Linked DNA regions of Homo sapiens: regions 2 and 3 are each linked to region 1. Evidence: promoter capture Hi-C in 16 types of primary human blood cells and fetal thymus (Javierre and others, 2016). All regions are on one chromosome and are shown on one strand. Each heading gives the region's core, a stretch centred on a gene start or on the middle of the fragment in contact. The rest is flanking DNA. Distances are from core to core; before and after follow the strand shown.

Evidence for each region. The method cuts DNA at HindIII sites, captures the fragments that hold promoters and counts their contacts. A CHiCAGO score of 5 or more calls a contact.
Region 2: the fragment with the promoter of SNAI3 here is called in contact with the fragment with the promoter of ZNF778 in region 1 in 4 of 17 cell types (erythroblasts, total B cells, naive CD4 T cells and 1 more); the score reaches 6.5 in erythroblasts.
Region 3: a contact is called between the fragment with the promoter of MVD here and the fragment with the promoter of ZNF778 in region 1, in 1 of 17 cell types (erythroblasts). The highest score is 7.0, in erythroblasts.

The regions. Positions count from the first base shown.
Region 1 is chr16:89,216,104-89,219,511 of GRCh38, forward strand. It overlaps ZNF778 (zinc finger protein 778), which reads left to right and starts at 1,600. Exons shown (of 7, transcript NM_001201407.2): 1 at 1,600-1,807. It overlaps ZNF778-DT (ZNF778 divergent transcript), which reads right to left and starts at 1,550. Exons shown (of 1, transcript NR_186410.1): 1 at 1-1,550. RefSeq lists enhancers at 138-432, 1,382-1,431, 1,956-2,486, 2,487-3,016. The HindIII fragment of the contact is 2,087 bases long and covers 1,521-3,408 here.
Region 2 is chr16:88,684,693-88,688,183 of GRCh38, forward strand. SNAI3 (snail family transcriptional repressor 3) reads right to left here and starts at 1,815. Exons shown (of 3, transcript NM_178310.4): 1 at 1,639-1,815. The coding sequence starts at 1,714. It overlaps SNAI3-AS1 (SNAI3 antisense RNA 1), which reads left to right. Exons shown (of 4, transcript NR_024399.1): 4 at 2,099-2,494. RefSeq lists silencers at 1,426-1,585, 1,636-2,095. The HindIII fragment of the contact is 8,177 bases long and covers 1-3,491 here.
Region 3 is chr16:88,661,789-88,665,148 of GRCh38, forward strand. It overlaps MVD (mevalonate diphosphate decarboxylase), which reads right to left and starts at 1,303. Exons shown (of 10, transcript NM_002461.3): 1 at 1,223-1,303. The coding sequence starts at 1,292. It overlaps SNAI3-AS1 (SNAI3 antisense RNA 1), which reads left to right and starts at 1,585. Exons shown (of 4, transcript NR_024399.1): 1 at 1,585-1,612. RefSeq lists silencers at 1,048-1,467, 1,808-1,967 and an enhancer at 1,548-1,597. The HindIII fragment of the contact is 12,211 bases long and covers 1-3,344 here.

The sequences.
Region 1 (3,408 bases), core at 350-2,849:
CGTCTCTACTAAAAATTACAAGGTGGGCACCTGTAATCCCAGCTACTTGGGAGGCTGAGGCAGGAGAATAGCTGGAACCTGGGAGGCGGAGGTTGCAGTGAGCCAAGATCGTGCCACTGCACTCCAGCCTGGACGACAGAGGGAGACTCCGTATCAAAATTAATAAATAATAAATAAAACACATCCCAAACACTCATAGTGTTGAACCATTTAGCATGTGGTTGCTTTGTATACTTCGTGAAATTGTGTCCAATCTCTGCTAGCCATAGATAAGATAAATCCTGGGGCTCTAAAGACTGCAAGCCGTTGCTGCCCTTCAGAGCTTTGTGACTCAGACACCTGTCAGGCTGCTGAGAAACGTGATCTAGTCACGTCAGCCCTCCCCCTGTCTGATCTCCTTCTTCTCTGGGAGTTCTCTGCGCGCCCCCCGCCCACGCTCATTTTTTTCTCTTTTCTGAGTAGTGACCCCCAATTCGAAGCCTGTGGGTAATCTCATGGTGCGTGAGACTCCCTCACCCTCCAACCTGTCAAAGCTTGTGCGCCACCGCCACCTCCTGGGCACATCTTGTTTCTTAATCAGCCACGAAATCACGTGAACACTTCACATGTGGTTTTGTTTTGTTTTTCACATTTAGACTCCTGATCCGTTTGGAGTTTATCCCTGTGAGATCCAGAATTAATTTCATCATTTCTCAGACGGCTAACCATTTGTCTTAGCACCTTTCATTATAAACTGCATGTTTGTTCCACCGCTCTGAAATTATGTTTATGAACCAAATTTCCATGTTACTGGGTTGATGTCTGGATATTCCATTTGTTTCCTGTTCATGTGTCACTAGCACACAGTTTTAATGACAGAGGCTGTTTTCGCATCTGTCGGGCATTGCGCTTTTGTTTGTCCGCGTCGTCTGCGTTATGAGACATTTGTTCCTCCATGTGAACTCCAGGATCAATATGCCTGGTTCCAAAAAAAAAACCTTTTCGTATTGTTACTGGAATCATGTGACATTTCTGAATGAACCTTGGGAGAACCCCTGGTATCAGTGCTATTTTGCAACGTAGTATAGGTGGTCTTGGCTCCTACGGTACATTAGAAAAGTAACAGAAACGCATATTTGAAGCGAAAAATAGATGAACATTTACAGAAAAAAAAAATACCACATTGAAAATGCAGTGGAATCAACTGTTAAAAGTTCGGCGTGATGTTCAGACAGATAAAAAGGAACGGGGCCAGTGACTCCCTGCAGAGATCGAGAGAAGACCGAGCACTCCCAGCACCCGCGGGCTTCTCGCTGTGACCGAACCGCGGGCCGCGCTCGCGACGAGCACTTCCTGGCTGTACCCGCCCAACCGCGCCCTCCTGGTCTGTTCCGGCTCCGCAGTTGCGTCCAGAGGCCTGATCCTTACGTCCGCCTGGTCCTCCGGGCCTGTCTCTGCCTCCAGCCCGGTTCCCAAGGGCGCCCCGGGGCCCTCCCGCACCCTCGCGGAAGAAACTACTACCTCCCCGCACCATAGGCCAAAGCTTCGGCCCGGAGGCTGGAGGCGGAAGTGACGCCAAAGACGCGCCGGCCCCTCTTCCGGCGCCGGCCCCGCCTCCGCCTGTCTTACAGCTGATCCGGTTCTTGCGGCGGTGCGTGCTGGCGCCGGAGAGTTCCGCGCGTGTCCTCGGGCTGTCCGCGGGGAAGCTGGTCCGGGAGTGGGCGCCCGCCCGCCTGCCTCGCGCCTTGCGCCCCCGGCACCGCTTCCAGAAGGGAAAGTCGCCGCCGCTCGCGGTAGACCCGGGCAGCGCTTCCATTCCGCGGAGCTGGTGAGAGAGGGGCCCTTTGCTTCCTTCACTTTGAACAGGGCGTGTTTCTGTGAGAATCTGGCTTCGGCTTTGACGTTTTTTATTTGTTTCTGGCACATTGTGTTGGGACCGAAGCGTAAGGTAGACCCCTGAGCGCCCCGGGCGTGCAGCTCCCTGTGAAAGTTAGCCCGTGGGGGCCAGCGGGAGCGCGCGTCCCTCGCCGCCGGGACTTCCAGGCCCGGCCCTCGGGGCGGGAGGGATGCGGCCGTTGTCCCGCTGGTCTTGGAGTAATCGAATCCACGGTGAACAGTGTGTTTCGACTAACTGTATTTTTTCTCACGTTTTGCTTTAGAAAATCTGAATCTAATAAAAATGTGAACATCTGCTACAAGGAATATCCACTGCAATCGTTTTACTCCTTTTTAGCTTTGGGCCATGTTTTCTCTCTCCCCCAATAAATAAACCTTACGGTGAATTATTATTTGAGTGTAAGTAAGTTGAAATTAAACTGCACACATGATACTTAACCTTTAAATACTTGGTAAAGCGTCTGTTAAGGGTAAGGACATTATCCTACTGAAACCACAATATTAGTATTTCATCTAAGAAAATTAAAATTAGGCCGGGCGCGGTGGCTCACGCCTGTAATCCCAGCACTTTGGGAGGCCGAGGCGGGTGGATCACGAGGTCAGGAGACCGACACCATCCTGGCTAACACGGTGAAACCCCATCTCTACTAAAAATACAAAAAATTAGCCGGGCGTGGTGGCGGGCTCCTGTAGTCCCAGCTACTCTGGAGGCTGAGGCAGGAGAATGGCGTGAACCCGGGAGGCGGAGCTTGCAGTGAGCCGAGATGGCGCCACTGCACTCCAGCCTGGGCGACAGAGCGAGACTCCGTCTCAAAAAATAATAATAATAATTAAAAATAATAAGGTCCGCTGGGCACAGTGGCTCACGCCTGTAATCCTAGCACTTTGGGAGGCCGAGGCGGGTGGATCATCTGAGGTCGGGAGTTCAAGACCAGCCTGACTAACATGGAGAAATCCCGTCTCTACTAAAAGTACAAAATTAGCCTTGCATGGTGGCGCATGCCTGTAATCCCAGCTAGTCGGGAGGCTGAGGCAGGAGAATCGCTTGAACCTGGGTGGCACAGGTTGCGGTGAGCCAAGATCGTGCCATTGCACTCCAGCCTGGGCGACAGAGCAAGACTCCGTCTCAAAAAAATAAAAAAATAAAAAAATAAGAAGGAGGTCATCCACTGTCTACTTTGTGTAATATCTAGGATTCTCAACATTTTTCCAACATTGCGCTGTTGGGTATTTTGGGGACTAAGAGCCCTTCAAGGTTTATCTGTTCCCATCGTTTATGTCTTTTCACCTAGAACAACCCCTGTGGTTTCTCTATCATATTGACTTTGGTGTTGTTTTCTCGTGATACGTTTAAATATTCCTCCATTTCTTGCTGCTTCCTATGAACTTGTAATTGAATTCAGAGGAGAGGTTGGCAAAGGGCGGATAGTAAGCACCTTATGCCTTTGGGTCCACGAGGTCTCAGATGGCTGAGTTCAGCCTTAGTCACCTCATGTCCCATGTTAGCTGTTCCTTCTCTACTCTGTCCTGGTT
Region 2 (3,491 bases), core at 565-3,064, 530 kb before region 1:
GCCATGTTGGCTGGTTTCGAACTCCTGACCTCAAGTGATCTGCCGTCCTCGACCTCCCAAAGTGCTGAGATTACAGGCATGAGCCGCCACACCCAGCTGAAGAGACTGTTTAAGTACCTTGCTGGCTTCAGGGGTTCCCTGGGGAGCCATAGGAGCCATTTATTTAAAAGGAGAGATTGAGGGGCCCCAAATCCCAGCACCTCAGGTCTATCCTGGGGTAACATCTTGGCAGAAAGTTGCCAGGGCCCCCTGGCTGTCAGAAAGCCAGGCAGCTGGGGCTACAGTGAGGAGGGGAGCGGGGGCGGGGAGCAGAGAGCACTGCGGGGCAGCACGGCTACTCACGACAGTTGCCCACTGGGCCCAGCACAGCTACCCAGATTTGCACACTGGGATGGACCCTAAGCAACACTTTGAAACTTGCAACTATTACCCATGTAAATTCCGCACACATGTGTAGTCACATGCGCATCCACATACACATAACAGAAGCCAGTGTCCTTCACCATGAGCCAGGCACTCCGGCAGTTTCTGCTCTATTTTATTTTACAAAATTGCTGGGGGTGACTGATGAAACTGATTTCAAAATGCACATTTGAAAAGCATGGTCCTAGCTGGCACCCCCTGGTGGCAGCCCGGGCCTCGGGTGTGGGTCCAGGTGGGATCCCCCCCATCCCCAACTCTGGGTTCTGAGCTGGGATAAAGGCCTCTTGGCGGTGTTGCTGGGGGCCACAGCCCCAACAGCGCCCTTCCTGCTCTCCCCCACCGGCCACAGAGCGTGAGTCCCGACCACCGCGTCCGCCGGCGCCCCTCAGTGGGCCTTTGTCCCAAGAAGCTGCCAAGCCAGGTGGGGACTGCTCTCACCGCCCGTGTGGCAGGCTGTCCTCTGAAGGACAGAGTCCTCTTCTCTCGTGTCCCTAAGCCTAGCAGGCAGTGGGAATGAACGGGCAGCCCGGTTGCTGGGCACCCATCTCCCCAGCCTAGCCGGTGTGTGGAGGATTGCAGCCCTTTAGCCCAGCCTGCCCAGGCAAGCCTGCCGGGGTGAGCAGGAGGGCTTCTGGGGTGAAGGGAGGTGGGGGAGGGAGGGAGACCACGGGCGGAGGCTCACCTGAACTGAATGCAGGAGGGGCAGTGCCTTTGCACCAGAAAGAGCCCATGTGTCCTTCTCACCATCCCCTGTGCTTACACCCCCAGTCAGCATGCTCCGGGGGTCCCTGAGCCGGGCCGCCCCAGACGGCCCTCCTTCCCTCCCACCCACCACCCCGCGACCCCTCCCAAACGTGTGCGCCAGGAAGATGACTCCAGGGTGCCTTTAGCTGGGGCTGTAGTGGTTGGGACGGGCGGCTGTATATCAGGGGTGAGTTCCAGGGAGACTTGGGGGCTTAGAAAACTTAGAAAACTTCTCCAAGTTGGGAGAGAATCCCGCCCGCCCTGCCGGAGGCGGGGCTCAGTGCCCTGAAGTGGAGGCGCCCGTGGGCCACCTCCCTCCCTGCAGCCGCAGCCGCTGCGCAGAGGCGCTGGCTCCTTCTCCTCCCACCTGGGACAGGTGTCTCCCCAGCCCCCGCTCCCAGGGGCCTCTCTCTCTCTCCCGCCCCTCAGGGTCGAGTCCCGGCAGGGGCTCGGGGATCGGGTAGTCAGTACCTCTCTGCGTCTCCAGCCGCCGGTAGTTGGGGACCCTGTGGCTGGAGTGCGTTTTCACCAGGAAGGAGCGCGGCATGTTCCCCTCCCGGGCGGCAGGCCGGGGTGGGCTGGGGCGGGAGGGGCGCGCCTGGGTCCGGACTGCTGCGTCCGCCGGCGCTTGAAGGGGTCAGGCTCATTAGCATAGCGCGCCGCCTCCGCCAACCAGCGCCCGGCGCGAGTGGGGCGGGGCCACGGGGGCGGAACTGAGGGCGAGGCGGGGTCTCGGGCAACACGCCCAGGACAGGTGCGCGGGCGGGACGGGGCGGGGAGCGCGTGGCCGCCGGTGTCCTCCCCACGGGAATTCTCTGGCGTGCGCGCCGCCGAGTCACACACCGACCCGTCGGGCCTGGCCACCCACTCGCCGTGAGTGAAGGGCAGAGTTCAAAGCTGTGTGGAAACCGAGCGAGAATCTCTTCCACAGAATGTGGAAGCGTCGGCCGAGCGCGGTCCTTGGAGAACCCTTGCTGCGGAGAATGACGCTCACTCTGCGGCCTGGCCTCGCCTCCCCATCCCTTCTGCAAACTCACAGGACAGGATTGATGGGGAGAGCCCAGGCGAAACGAAGCTGACCCTAGTGACCAGCCCTACTGGCGGCTCTGGAACAGGCCCGGGACCGGTGGCCTGGAGACAGTGGTCCTTTCTGGATGGGCTGCAGTCTCCGAAGGCTTCCCCCACTGGAGTCAGCCCTTTAGGAGTTTGTCCAGTGCCTCCAGAAAGCTGTTTTTTGGGGGACGGAGGACTTGGCCTGGAATTCTGGAATTCCCAGGGGGTCAGACATGGTTATGGGAAGTTTAATAAAACCGGTGAATCACGTGAATTCTGCAACAGCTGCACGTGTGACCTGGGCAATCCGTTTCCCTCCTTTGTGGTCCTGTAGAGCCCTCAGGGTCATAAAAAGCTGGGAGCCGCTGTGTCCAGTGTCTGGGTCTCTTTTGACATGGACATTTCATAACGTTGGGGGCCAGGTGGGGCCGTCTCTGGGCTGGCGTGCACACAGGGTGTCCCTGGCTGTGCCGCCGGCCTGCCTCCCCAGCAGGGCTTCCACCTCAGAGCTGGGTGGCCTTTGCCCCCTGTGGGCCGGGGGTGGAGAAGGTGGGGGGTGGTGAGTCCATGGAAGCTCTGAGGGACAGACAGCAGGGAGGAGGGCCGTGCCACACCAGCATCCCACGTCCCACATCACACGTCCAGGGTGTGAAAAGCTGGGCTAGTATCAGCCCCACTTTGCCAATGAAAAAAAACTAGGCTGTGAGTCTGGGCTCAGCAGCTCACGCCTGTAATCCCAGCACTGTGGGAGGCTGAGACAAGAGGACTGCTTGAGCCCAGGAGTTTGAGACCAGCCTGAAAAACAACATGAGACCCCGTCTCTACAAAAAAAAAAAAAAAAATTATTTTAATTAGCCAGGCGTGGCAACACCCATCTTCAGTCCCAGCTACTCAGGACGCTGAGGAGGGAGGATTGCTTGTTGCAGTAGCCTCCAGGAGGTGGAGGCTGCTGTGAGCTATGATGACCCCACTGCACTCCAGTCTGGACAACAGAGCAAGACCCTGTCTCAAAAAATTAAAAAAAAACAAAAAAGAAGACCAAGGCTGTGAGAGGTTAGGACACAGTGGGATTGGGACCCAGCCACACTCCAGCTTGTCTGCCACTTGGTGAGGGGGAGTGGAAGGACAGGTGGAGGTGCCCCTGGAAGAAGGTGCCCGCCTCTCCTGCAAGCATGGCCTGGCACCACCACGCCGGGAGTGTAGATTTCAGAGGACACATGCCTGCCTTCTGCTTATTCACCTGTTCCTCGCCTGGAAAGGTTTCTATTTAT
Region 3 (3,360 bases), core at 53-2,552, 550 kb before region 1:
CCGTAGGGATGCAAAATGGCCCAGCCACTCTGAAAAACAATTAGACAGTTTCTTTAAAAAAAAAAAGTATATATATAATATATATATGTATATATACACACACATACATCTATATAGGTGTATACATATACACACACATATATCTATACAGGTGTATATATATATACACACACACAAACATACATATATACATAGAAAGAGAGAGAGAGACAGAGAGGCATATATATATATCTACCATCTGACCCAGCAACCGCACTCCTGGGCATTTATCCCAGAAGAATGGAAATGTATGTTCACACAAAAACCTGTATACAACATTTTATGGCAGCTTTATTGGTAAGGGAAACACAAAAAAATTAGCCAGTCGTGGTGGCGGCTTCTGGAAAGAAAAGAAAGAAAGAAAGAAAACGTTAGATGCTCTTTGCGGGGTGAGGCCTTGGCTAGAGAGAGGGTGGTCCATGGATTCCACGGACTGGCTCAGCAACAGAGGGGCAAAGCACTGATACAATCCCGGGGCACGTCCACATTCTATGCTGAATGAAATAAGCCAAACTCAAAAGATACTGGGTGGGCCACATAACTGCGATTCCAGTTTCAGAACATTTTGAAATGACGTTACAGAAATGAGTGGTCAGTGGCGGCCAGGTAACCCCGGCGCGAGGGGAGGGGCGGGGCTGTGAACGCACAGGTGCGGACCGGCCTCCCCGGCACGGATGTGGGCCTGCGGGCCCCCCATTACCGCTCCTTGGAGGTTACCGCTGGGAGAAACGGGGCGAGGGAGGGACACAGGGTCTCGGGCTGGGGGAGCAGTGGCGCGATTTCCGCTCACTGCAGCCTCGACCTCCCGGGCTCTGGCCATCCTCCCGCCTCAGCCTCCCGAGTAGCTGGAGCCACAAACGCGCACCACCACGGCGGATTCTTACGATTCATGGGAATCGATGATTGATGATTTCGATAGTTCGGTAATCGCTAATGGGCAGGCGCCGGGCGACCCTGCAGGGGCGGCAGCCGTCGCGGGGGAACGGGTGGCGCCGAGCTTGTCACGCGAAGGAGCGCGCGGCCCCGCCCGACCACCGCCGCGCCCCTCCCTGAGCCTCAGTTTCCCCGTCTGTCGAGGCCCTGGGAGGGCAGGACGGAGCGCGCCGCCGAATCAGCGCGCGACCCCCGCGTACCCGGCCTCGCTCCCGGCCATCCCCGTCCCAGGCCGGCCCGCGGCACTCACAGTACTTGATGACCGCGATGTTGACCGGCGCTGTACAAGTGACTGCCGCCAGCGGCTTCTCCGAGGCCATGGTCCCACCGCGCAGTGACCCCAGCTCCACAGCCACTTACGGCCCGCGATCCCACCCCAGAGGCCTCTGCCTCCTCACGCGCTACCACAGGATTGGCCCGTGCGAGCCCGGCTGCTCGCGCGCCGACCAATCAGCGGCGAGTCGGGCGCACGCATTACCTCTCAGCCAATGGACGGGATCGGACGATGGGTTGCTGACGTAGGTCCGCCCCACCCGCAGGGTGCGCTCGCCAGGCCTGGGGCGTGGTGTTGTCTGCGCAGGCGCCGTGTGCCCAGGCGCCTGGCGTCCGCGTCGGCGATCCGGGGTCTGGGCGCGGCGAGGTGGGCGCTGTTGCCTGTGGGGGCTACCTGTCTGCTGGTGCTGTGCGGGCTTGTGCGGGGCTGTGCGGCAGCTGTGTGGGGCCCGTGAGGAGCTGTGCGGGGGGCTGTGCGAAGGGCTGTGTGAGGCGCTGTGCTGGGGGCTGTGCGGAGACCTTGAGGCGCTGTGCGGGGTCCGTGAGGCTCTGTGTGGGGCGCCGTGTGGGAGACTCTGCGGGGGCCGTAAAGGGTCCGTGAGGCGCTGTGTGCGGGTTGTGAGGCGCTGTGCGGGGACCATGAAGGGGCCGTGGGGCGCTGTGCGGGTGCCGTGGGGCGCTGTGTGGGAGGGAGGCTGTGCGGGGCCGTGGGACGGTGTGCGGGGCTGAGGGGAGGGCGGGTCGCGCTGTGCCCTCCTTGAAGCTCTTGGACGGCCCCGCTGGGTATGGGGGTGCACACAGGCCCGAGGGCAGGCGCTGGAGGATGTATCCCGGGATCCACTCTTAACCCGGCAGCCGAAGGCACCCTGTCCCGCCGCCCACAGCCTTCTCCGCGCCATGTCCTGGGCCAGGATCCCCCGCCACGGGGCTCACACGAAAGACCCCGGGGCGGGGAAGCCCCGCAGCCCGGAGCTGGGTCCAACCTGCATTAAGGTGGGCGTCTCAAATACCCCCTGTAAGGCCCTGTAGGAGCAAAGCCTTGGACTGGGTTGCGGCGCTTGTGTGTGCATTGACTTCTCCTGTGAAACGTACAGGAACATTTAAGCGTGCCGTTCCCTGCCATTCATTCCAATCATGTGCCACGCCCCCACTATTTCTAGAGTTTTCTCACCCCAAACAGAAACTCTGTCCCCTTAAAACAATGACTTCCCATTTTCCCCTTCCCCTTTTAAAATTTTACCTTTAGTTTTTAAATAGCTCAGATTGGCTGGGCATGGTGGCTCACACCTGTAATCCCAGCACTTTGGGAGGCCGAGGTGGGCGGATCACGAGGTCAGGAGTTTGAGACCAGCCTGGCCAACATGGTGAAACCCTGTCTCTACTAAAAATACAATAATTAGGTGGGCGTGTGGTGCACGCCTGTAATCCCAGCTACTGGGGAGGCTGAGGCAGGACAATTGCTTGAACTCAGGAGGCGGAAGTTGCAGTGAGCCGAGATGGTGCTGCTGTACTCCAGCCAGGGTGACAGAGCAAGACTCCATCTCAAAAAAAAAAAAAAAAAAAAAAAAAACTCAGATTTCGGAAAATAGGGGAGTATGCAGTGTGAAGTGTCCACTCTGCCTAGCCACCTACTTCTATTACCAGAACCATCATACTTATAAATTCTTTATTTTTTTCCAGAAATAGAAAAAAAGTCTGTTTTTTTTCTCACTCTGTTGCTCAGGCTGGAGGGCAGTGGTACGATCAAAGCTCCATGCAGCCTCGACCTCCTGGCTCAAGGGATCTTCCCACCTCAGTTTCCTCAGTAGTTGGGACTACAGGTACACACCACCATGCCCGGCTAATTTTTTTCTTAATTTTTTTGTAGAGATGTGGGGGGGTCTTGCTATGTTGCCCAGGCTGATTTGAAGTCCTGGCCTCAGGGAACCCTCCCATCTCAGTCTTCCAAAGTACTGGGATTAGGTGTGAGCCACTCCACCTGGCCTGTCAATTCTTTGTGTATTTTTTCATTGACGTGCATAGTACAAGCACATAGCGTGTTCTCCCACCTTGCTTTTTCTACGTACCTTCTTCTTAGAGATCATCCCAATTTAGTAAAAAGCTTCCTTGTTTGTT